2 separate regions of the Homo sapiens genome follow, and region 1 is linked to region 2. Evidence: promoter capture Hi-C in human tissues and cell types (Jung and others, 2019). All regions are on one chromosome and are shown on one strand. The core of a region is centred on a gene start or on the middle of the fragment in contact, and the rest is flanking DNA. Distances in the headings are between cores, read along the strand shown.

Evidence for each region. The method cuts DNA at HindIII sites, captures the fragments that hold promoters and counts their contacts. A contact is called where the count stands out against the background at its distance.
Region 1: a fragment that was not itself captured here is called in contact with the fragment with the promoter of BTNL9 in region 2 in 1 of the 25 tissues and cell types used here (spleen).

What each region holds. Positions count from the first base shown.
Region 1 is chr5:180,843,861-180,849,388 of GRCh38, forward strand. It overlaps ZFP62 (ZFP62 zinc finger protein), which reads right to left. Exons shown (of 2, transcript NM_001172638.2): 2 at 3,751-5,528. The coding sequence ends at 4,932. Among named protein-coding and RNA genes, the nearest start is that of ZFP62, 15 kb to the right of the region's middle. RefSeq lists a silencer at 629-923. The HindIII fragment of the contact is 7,289 bases long and covers 143-5,528 here.
Region 2 is chr5:181,038,617-181,043,726 of GRCh38, forward strand. It overlaps BTNL9 (butyrophilin like 9), which reads left to right and starts at 1,650. Exons shown (of 11, transcript NM_152547.5): 1 at 1,650-1,816. MIR8089 (microRNA 8089) reads right to left here and starts at 4,868; the gene lies at 4,787-4,868. The HindIII fragment of the contact is 13,573 bases long and covers 1-5,110 here.

The DNA.
Region 1 (5,528 bases), core at 2,537-5,036, 190 kb before region 2:
GGGCCATAAAGCAAATCTCAACACAATTCAAAGGACAGCAGTCACATGGACCATGTTTTGTAACAACAATAACAAAAATATAACTAGGAAATTCCCATGTTTGGAAGTTAAAAAATATACTTCTAAATAAGCCATGGAATCTGTTGTGATTTCCCAATTTTCATTCCTGACTTTGATTATTTGTGCTTTTCTTTCTCAATCACATCAGAGGTTTACCAATTTTGTCTTTTCAAAGCAGCAACCTTGACTTTGTTGTTCTTTGTTGTGTTTGCTGTTTCATCAACTTTTGCTCTCATTCTTATCTCCTTCAACTTTTAAAAAGATAGTCAATTTAACAACGTTTGTACAAAATTTTTATAAAGTACAGAGCATTTTTATTAAGCCTTAAAATAATCTTGTAAACAGGTCTTTTCCCTCATTTTACAGATGGGAAAATGACAGAACAGGAAATAAATCCATATTATTGCACTGAATGGAATATGGCCCCATGGTTTGCACCCAAGACCAGAGGAACTTCACCTGCTCCTCTCTGGGGCTTTGCCCTGCCCACCCCAGGACCACTACTTATCCTCTGAGATCTTAAGGGACACTCACCAGAAATAGCCATGGTTAAGATGGTAAAAGTCTGGCTCTCACCAACCCTTCCTACAGTAATCTCCAGCACATCTGAATATTGCTGGGAAAACACAGGGGAAACAAGATGTGTACCATGTGAGTGAGCAGGCTGCCCAGGCCAGAAAGGCAAGCGTGAGGCAGCCCTCAACCCCCAACGTGTGGTTACTGGCCTCAGCTGGAGGCTCCTCCTGCTGAGCCCTTTTGCAGCCCGACAAAGACAAAACATGTTTGTTTAGAGACAATGGATTGCTTACTTAGAAGCAAGATACCACTCAGGAACATCCAAAAAATAACTTTTCTCATGTTTCTTCTCAAGTTTTGTCTGAGTAGGGGGTGGTCCTTGAGGGATTTCCTTGACTTCCAGGTAAGAGTTGTCCTCCACTGCCCAAGCATCTAGATGCTGAGTCTTTGGACAGGGCCACCACACTTCAGACTTATTCCATACATTCTTATGCAAATACTTCTCATTCTAGGCAGCCTTCTAAGGACCTTAACACTATTAATGTTTCCAACCCTCATTACAACCTGAGGTTGCTACTATTATCTTTACAAAAGACAGGTGAGGGCCCAGTATGGTAGCCTGTGGTGGTTCAGGCCTGTAATCTCAGCACCTTGGGAGTCTGAGGCTGGGCAGATTACTTGAGGTCAGGAGTTCAAGACCAGCCCAGCCAACAATGATGAAACCCTTTCTCTACCAAAAATACCAAAGTTAGCCTGGCATGGTGGCGCATGCCTGTAATCCCAGCTACTCTGGAGGCTGAGGCATGAGAATTGCTTGAGCTCAGGAGGTGGAGACTGCAGTGAGCTAATGCCCCTGCACTCCAGCCTGGGCGACAGAACGAGACCGTCTTAAAAAAAAAAAAAAAAAAAAAAAAAAAAAAAAAAAAGACACGTGAGGACACACAAGTTTAGTTACTTGCCTAAAGTCATCTGGAAATAAGTGAAAGTCCTTATTTGAACTCAGGCTTCCTTGTGGAGACCATGTCCTCGGCCACTATACTTCACTGACTCTACACAGGTTTCATGCAAACGGCTTCCTTCGCACAATGACACTATCCAGACCTGAGAACCGCCAGGTCTAAATGAGAATGGCTCCTCAGTAGGAAGACAATTGAAGTACTGTATTCTGCTTCCTTCTCCATGTCTCTAGGCCTTTAGCTGAAGCTGGAGAAGAGAAATGAAGGGTCTCCCCAGCCCAGGAACTCCTTGGGTACAGCTGTGGCCAATTACTCAAGGTCTTGATGCAGACAGACTTCAGGTCCCCAATGTCTGCCTTCAGCTAACACCATCTTCAGGTGTTGTCCTGGTGGTGATCCTCTCATTTCTGAATCCCACGGAGGAAAATTCCCCTGCATTGCAGGATTGGTGTTCAGTACCGTTTCACGCCCAGTGTCTTCATACACAAAACATGAAATTATTTTCCAGGCTTTCACCTTCAGACAAATTTGCTAATAGAGACATGCACTCCTATGGAAGGCTATTCCATACTCACTGTTTTTTCAGGCTTTTCTTTTCTCTTTCTCCTCCCCGCTTTTCCCTCCCCCTTTATTTTTCCCACTTGCATATCGTTCTCTGGAAGGAACCGGGGGTGGTGCCTAAACCATGTTCCATCCCTGGTCTGAGCAGGCTCAGCCGCACCAGTTCATTGGGTCTGTGCTACAAGGGAGACCCCACCATGTCTGGGATCAGCCTGAATGGCTTGTATCTGGCTGTAGGTACACTTGAGGACCTGGGCCCATTTCTGGAGCATGCGAGTAGATGGGGGCCGCAGTAGGAGCTTGTCTGGTGCTTAGTGGGGCTGAGGCACTCAGAATCCCCACCTGAGCTGTGGCCATCCTCTCCTTTGTTATTTAGCCTGCATCTCCCCAAAAGTAGACAGTGCATTAGGTTCAGCTGGAGCTCAAGTACGGGAGCTCTCCTGTGTGAGGAGCACATGGAAACCTCAGGTTAAAAACAACCAAAGCTGGTCTCATCTTCAGCAAAAAGAAGCCCAATCCATGTCCCCACGACTACGGGGAACGAGTACTCCATGGCACCCTCCTTCCTGCCCACACATCAGCCCTGCCAGAGACCAGCCTTGCTGGAGGATGCCTGGGCACTTCCGTAGCTGCCTTTACTCAGGTCATCCTAGTTCCTACTCCTCTCAGAAAACCCAATTCAACGTCCTGCCCAGATGTCACCAATTCCTCCCTCTTGGTTGGTCCTAGTCGCTGTCCTCTGAGCACCTGCAGTCTTAATTCATCCATTAGGGTGGTTGTGCTCACAGCCTTTCTCCCTTTATTCATCCTCATCTACCAGAATCTACTCCTGCTGCCATCCTCTCCCACCCAGTACCTGGGACAGGGACAGTGCCTAGTAGATCCTCAAGTATTTGCTGAATAAATCAGTCCAAGTCTGTGTATAGGGTCAGGCTTGCCAGTGTCATGTGCAAAGGAGGATAGAGAGCAAGTATGATCAGAACAGTCCAAGTGGAGCAGTGGTAGAAATGCTCCATCTCCCTTTCCTCCCTCAACTCCACCCTTCCCCACCGCAGCCATCAAAACTTACTGGTAGGGGTTTGGATACAAAGTGAAACAAATATACTCCTAGAAAGAGCATGGAAACTATCTGGCTACAGAGATAGGAGTCCCAGAAGGAGATGGGAAACTACATGGCTGAGATTGTTCTCTTGTAAAGACAATGGGTTTTGAAACCAGATACCAGACTTCAAATTCAGCCTTTGCTGATTGGCCCACTCACAGTATTCTCAGACAGGTTACTCAATTCTCAGAAGAGTCTATTTTTACCCTTTGAGTTACCTAGTTAACAGCTTCATACACAGCAGTAGTTTATGTTCAATTCTACATGTTCCTGACAGAGCTGTGTGTGGTGACTGATCACTCACACAACCTACCTGCTCCCGAGTTAGGATCTGGCCCAGTAACGACGATCACATGGCTCCACTGTGGTCCCCTCAAAATCTATCCTGTGCTCCTCCTAGGGAGGCACCTTCTAACTTCTGGTGAAACCAGCTGAGCTGCTAGCCCTGTGGGATGAGTCTACTACCCTCTCTGGTTTGGATCTGGTATAACTTACCCAACAAAGATCTGGCACACAAATGGCTCTTGGGTATCCTCCATCTAAACTCACAGCCCGTTTTGATTTAAGGAATTTCTTTATTGGAATTCCACTTTACCTCGCCACAAGGAGCTGGCTTTCATGACAAAGAGAGAGTGAGCCCTGAACAAAGTATTCGTTAACATTTTACAACAGACAACATATACATGTCCTGCATGACATCTTTACAATAACACATTCCAAAAACAATCAAACATTTAACAGGATTATTAAGAAACATTAATTTCCTTCTCTCTAGATGACTGGTACTTTAGCTTTTTAGCTTCTGCAATAAAATGCGTTCCTTCTCAGCATTTCTATTCATAGGAATCCCTGAATCACTTCTGTCATGTAAGGTGCGAATTCATGTTGACGGTGTGTTCCATTAGTTACTGAATGTGTCAAAATCCTCTCCACGGTAGAACCTTTTATTGTAGCATAATGTGTGAATACCACTTCCAGGTTATCCCTCATCACAAATTCATCATTCATTATGGGAGTTCATCTGAAACTTTAAAAAAGTTTCATCCATTCAACTAATGTATCACAATAGTACGTTCATCAATTTGCATTTTTTATGAGTGACTCTCTCCTATCTCCTGTTAGACTTGTAAGTCTATGCTTTCTACTTTTCCTAAAAGGAAATCCAAATTTTGTTTCAGAAGTCATCATCACTGCCCCCTCCCAAACCAATTACATCAAGTTTATACTTAAAGACCACTAATATTAAATAAATTTATATTCCCTGAAACCTATCCTCCCTGAATTTGCCTGTTGGAGGCCCTTAGTTTTCCCACTGACCAATGTGTAATTGGGATTCAAAGCTATACCTGAATTTCCTACATTTCTAGTAACAGAATTTACCAAACATGAACTTTCTGATGGTGATTACGTAACTTCTAATTGAAGCCCTTTCCTCATCTGTGTTTTATGTCCAGAAATGTCTACTGATTTTGAAGATTTGCTTCACATTCCATCACTCAGATCTAAGTTTTTCTCTCAAGTATGGACTGTTTTATATCCTGTAAGAGCTGAACTACCTTGACACTGGAGCCTTTCTTGCTTGCTATGATTGAAAATCACATAGAAAGGATTCCTCATAATCCTCTAGGATGGTTTCATTTACACTGTGTAAATTACAAGCCATGACCCCCTACATTCTTACATTCATAAGGTATTTCTTCCATTTGAGTTCGGAGAGACTTGGTAAGCTCTGCCTGCTACAGAGGCATCCTCATCCTGCCCCCATCCAGGGCATTCCCTCCCTCATAGGTTCTCTTCTGGGATGTGCCACTATAACTTCCCACATATATCACATTTAAAGATTCCTCTCCAGTATGGGTTCTTTTATGCTTGGTGAGATTTGATCTGATATTAAAAGCCTTACCACACTCATTACATCGGTATGGCTTCTTTCCAGTGTGGATCCTTTTGTGCTGGTCAAGGACTGATCTATAATTGAAGGATTTCCCACACTCACAATTATAGGGCTGCTTCCCCTGGTGGACACTTTTATGATTGATAAGACTTGAGTGTGAGATGTATGCCTTCCCACACTCATCACATTCATAGGGTTTCTCACCTGTGTGGATCCTTTTATGCACTGTGAGGCCTGAGCTGTTCCTGAAGGCCTTCCCACACCTATCACACACATAGGGTTTCTCCCCTGTGTGGATCCTCTTGTGCTGAGAAAGGAGAGAGCTGTAACTGAAAGATTTCCCACACTCAACACACTTGAAGGGTTTCTCCCCAAGATGGACTCTTTTATGGCTTATAAGAGTTCTGCTTGAGAAAAAAGCTTTTCCACATTCATCACA
Region 2 (5,110 bases), core at 400-2,899:
TAACCCCTAGCCTTTTCCTACCTCCCACATGCTAATCACCTCCCTCCACGAAGAATGTCTGTCCTCGCAGGCTCTGTCCTCCCGGGCTGCCCATGGCTTCCCTGATCCTACTGTTTATGCAGCATCCATCTTAAGTATACCCTGTCCTTGAGCCCTCCTCTGTCTCCCCAGGCCCGGGGAACTGCACCCACTGTTTGAGCTCACTGTTCAGCCCCTTTTGCTGTCCTAGGGACATCTGTTCACATTAATAAGCCTGGGTGCCCAGTCTCACCAGCCTGTCTGAGCACAGACAGTCACCTCCAGGTCCATGCCTGAAGCTTGCTGGCTCCCGTCTCCCACCCATGTAGCGCCCTGTCACCTGCAGAGGCCCCTCTACAAACACAGGCACTTCTGGGAGTCCCTGGGGTGTGCTACTGAGGCAGAAAATTTAAAAATACATATGCCTTCATTCACTCCAAGAAAAGTAACAGGCAAGGCAAGGGTTAAAAAGTAAAGGACAAGTTTTCCTCTGCCTATAGCAAGCCCACTGCAAGGACAGTTATAACAGTGTCCAGAAAGCCAAGGCCAAAGGAATGGGCTCCAGATACCCGCCGCCCCACTTCCAGAGCAAGGTTGAAGGAAAAAGAGAGAAAGACAAATTCTTTTACTGTTACTGTTTTCCCAGGCTTCTTAAGCATGATTGTGTTTTACAAATGTCTGTACTTAGCCAGTTCTTGTTTTTCTTTCAATGCAGCTACAAAGTCACCCGCTGTGCAAGGCCACAAGTTATGCTATGCTATAGATTATGTGACCTATCATGATTAGCTGCTTTTGTTTTATTTATTGTAAGTCCACTTACAAAAACCCCGCTCTGTCTTTGTTTAATGCTCAGCTTTTTGGATGTGAGTCCACTGAGCCGGTGTGTACCTAAAATAAACAATCCTCCTGTTCTTCACATCGGTCTCTCCGGTCCTCAGTTTCCCACAACACTGCATGTGCTTGAGCTGCTCGTGCCTCAGCTCTGGCCTGTTCCCTGGAGGGGACGTCAGTGTGGGCTGCAGCTGGGTGGCTGGTGCCTCAGTCCGCTAATGCCCAAGTTGCACCATGGCCTACAGTAAGATGGGGTGGGCTGGGCTGGGGTAGTGCTTGCTGCTTCTTTTCTGACCTCTTCTCCACTAGAGAAATCCCAATCCAGCACCCTCCTGCATTTCTAAGTTGCACGTGAACAGGTTTTGCAGGTTGCCTCACGACAATGCCCCCAGGATTTGTTCCTTACTGACCTTGTCCTGAGGAGAAGGTTATGGTGGGTTAAAAATTGGTCATCAGCCCCTTCCTCGTGGTTAGTTAGTGGAGACTGCAGTCTACTCTCTTTCACTGTTCGGGGACTGCTACCCTGCCTCCTTGGAGTCCGAGCTTCACTGGCACAAAGACCCTGAACCCAGCTGGAGCGTTTTCTCCTCACTTTGAGCCTCTGCAGCTGTCGCTCTCTACAAAGCTCTCAGATACCTTTCCCCTCCTTCTGTGACCCTGGAGAGATATTTTACATGGGAATTCAAGATTTTTCTCAGAGACAGGATGTGACGACTTCCTTGTTTTGTTCTATCCATCTTGGTTTCCATAGCCAAGGGCAGAGCAAACGGCATATATCTTAGGGTGGAAGATGGATAAATAATTCTGTCACACGTGCCCTGGCCTCTGGAGCTCAGCTGCCAGTCCACGTCTAGGGAATCTTAGCATCTGGGACCAAGACACTTTACAGCAATCATCACCCTTTGCAGAGGAGGTGAGCTCACCAGGACTCATCTGCCATTTCAGACCTTTTGCTGCTACCTGCCAGGTAAGTGGCTCATTCTCAACAGCTGCCTACACCTCCATCTTTCAGAAACGGCAATCAGAAAATGAAGGTGGGAGGCTTTGGGAAGGCGTACAATTAGTGGCACCATTTTATTATCCGAGCTTGGCCGCAGCATGGGATGTTTCGAGTGTGGCCAAGAGGAGATGTCCACGCCCGTTTAGGTGGGCCGCATCTCAGGAGGCAGGATCCTGATACATCCCATTGCCCCCACCAGACGAAAAAGATTTCAAGCCTCATTGCGGTTCCCTTCTTGGGGCAGTCCATCTTCCTTAGAGACTAAGAGGGTGGAAATCCTCTTGTGGACCTATCGAAATCAAACCAGCGCAGGCAGTGAGCACTAGCTGGGGTCTGCCGGGGGGAAGGGCATTGCAGGGGGTGTCGGGGAGGCCCGTGGGAGAGGGCCAAGGCCCCACTGACACCTGCGGACTTGCAGCTTGGGGAGTGGAGGACAGGAGACAGGCAAAATTCACCAGTTACACAGCTTACAGAAGTAGCAAAGCAAAGACTATACTTCAGGGATAATTTCTGTACTTTGTTACTAGAGAAGTTTTCCACTCTGGGACCCCACAGTCTCCGCAGACATATGCAGAGCAAAAAATACTTCCTGTGTTTGGGAGAGCAAGAGACATGGCATTTATTAATAACATGGATTTTCCTGCCAGGTTTCATAACGTGGTCATTTAAGTGTGAAATGTAGTCTTAAAATTATGTTAGAGAATCCCCAAGGTTTTGCTCTGCCCCCATGGAAACACTGGGATCGCTCAGGACGCCAACAGCTGCATAGCAGGCGAGGGACTCCTGTGGGAGGACGTGGCCTGTGGACACTGCCAGGTTCGGAGATGTCCTTGGGAGATTTACTATTTGTCAGGAAGATAGTGTTAAGTTCAGGCAAATAATTATATGTGTGGACAGAATCTGAAATTCACCAATAGAGTAAGTAAGAGTGAGAGATTGTGAATGTGTAATACAAATGGAAAAGCAGGTTTTATTTTGTTAAGTTATTCACCAGGGAACCAACTGAAGTTCCTTCTAATCCTCTTTTTCTCCATTCTTGCTTTGCTGAAAGTTGGAGAAAAGGACATGTGTAGAGAAAATGGGATGCTTCAGGGTGGCTCAGAGGACACCAATCCATAGTGATTCGCCTGAGTTTGTCAGGTGGAAGCAGTGATTTTTAAGAGTCACTGATTAAAAACAAACAGTCCTAAGTGTATTAGGGAGATGCCATTTATTTGTGAATCAAAAACTTTTCTCAGTCTCTTAAATTATGGTTTTCCTGTAATAAGAATGATTTATATTTTTAGTGAAAAGTTGTTTTCCTTTCAAATACAGACTTTTTAAAAAGACTTAGTTTGAGTAAGTACCTTTTCATTTGATGCTTTTCTTGTGCCTAACCTTAGGAAATCCAGAATAGTATTTGACAGAAATTATGTTTTCAACTTGCCTTTGACATCTGTCCCACTGCATTTTGCTTTAAAATTCTTTATTTAACAATAAATTATCTAAAAAAATAACAGTAGCAAAGCAAAAAGTACTCATCTTTAAAGACAGACTCGACGGAGGGACCGGAAATCAGAAAAACATCAGGGTTGTTTAGGAATTGCAGGTGCAGGAGGAGAGAACAGGAGTGGGGCGGGCTGGGGGCAATGAGAGAGCAAGAAGAAAAGAAAAATAAAAAGAGAAGGAGAAGAAAGAAATGGGCTTTTGCTGGGTGCAGGCAGTGACATTTCTCAGGACCCCTTATTTCTCCCTGTGCCTTCCGGAGGGAGCAGCCCAAGGCTCCTGGGAGGACAAGCAGCACGTGCCCGCCGGCAGAGCTCAGCTCCAGCTGGAGGACCCCTTTGTGGTCCTTGCGCACACTGGGTTTTCCTTCTTCCCCAAATATCCGACGCGTCCAGTCCCTTACTCCTTCCCCAGGCAAAACCTCCTCACCAGGAACAACCTGAAATCAATTTACACTGTAATCAAAATAGCAGAGGGTGGAAAGTGTTTCCTTCGAGGAGGGGACTTACGCTTCAAGTAAGGATTGAGCACCCTGGATCCTTAACTGAAGAGTGAGGTCAGAAAGGGCGGACGCACAGCAGCAAACGGGGAGGAGGGTGCTGTCCAGGAGCCGCTGACTTTTCCCTTCAGGAAGCTGCCAGACCATCTCTCTCTGCTAAAGGCTTTCAAGATGATACCCTTGAGTGTTGGGAGCAAAGGGACCAGGTACCTGTTCCTCCTGGCTCAGAAGATGCTCTTGACAAAGTCTTAGGGAGACCTCAGCTTTAAGTTGTTTTATCTGGCAGCGGGATTTTAAATTTTGTATTCATTAGTTGGCTGGTTGGCTGGTTTTGTGGCTGGCACCGTGTGAGCCGGTCGCTTCTTCAGTGCCTCTGTGTGATGGCAGGTTAGGGTGAGTGTTTGGTCTGTGGCCAGCTGGTTCCTGAGACGGTCATGGTTTTGGGTAACAGGAGTGACGGAAGGGTGTACCCAGACACACGACGTAGCTGGTGAGGAATCTGAATTCGAGAAGTGCAGAGCGAGGCTCTGGAACCAGACAGTGGGTGGAACCCCACCCCACCACTCACCCACTGTGTGCAGGAGCAAGTCACTCAGCTCCTGGGCCTCCGTTTCCTTATCTATAATTTGGACCTATTAGTAATAATAATAATAAAAATAATAATACTGAGGTATAGATAAGTGTTTGATAGATAGGAAGTACCCAATGCATGTTAGTTTTATTACTGTCAGCACGTGTGTGTGTGTGTATGTGTCTGTGTGTGTGCATCTGTGTGTGTGTCTATGTGTGTGTCTGTGTGTGTGTGCATGGGTGTGTCTGTGTGTGTGTGCATGTGTGTGTGTCTGTGTGTGTGTGTGTGTGTCTACAATCCTCCTCCCCTGAAGATTCCATGATGGGAATCACACGGGTGTATCACAACAGAGAACTGAGGTCCCTCTAGCACTTCCACGGTTCTGGAACATCCTGCCCCAATCCCCTGTCCCCAGGAGGTGGCAGCCTGCCCCCAGTCCAGGGAAATTGGAGTGAGTGCTCCTTCTGTGAGAAGGCCAGCTGTGGGACCTGTCTCGCGCCCCATTACCACCTTATGAGCAGACCTGTGTCACAACCTAACACAACCTCGACTAATTCCCCAGAACCCAACCCATCTGAATGGATGCATAAACACACCCTGAGCCCCTCTTGGTTTTGGAAGTTACTAGCTGAACACTGACGTGCCCCTCCTGGTTTTGCTGTCATGGAGCTCTAACCTGTGTCTAGAATCCAGAAGAAAAGACTGA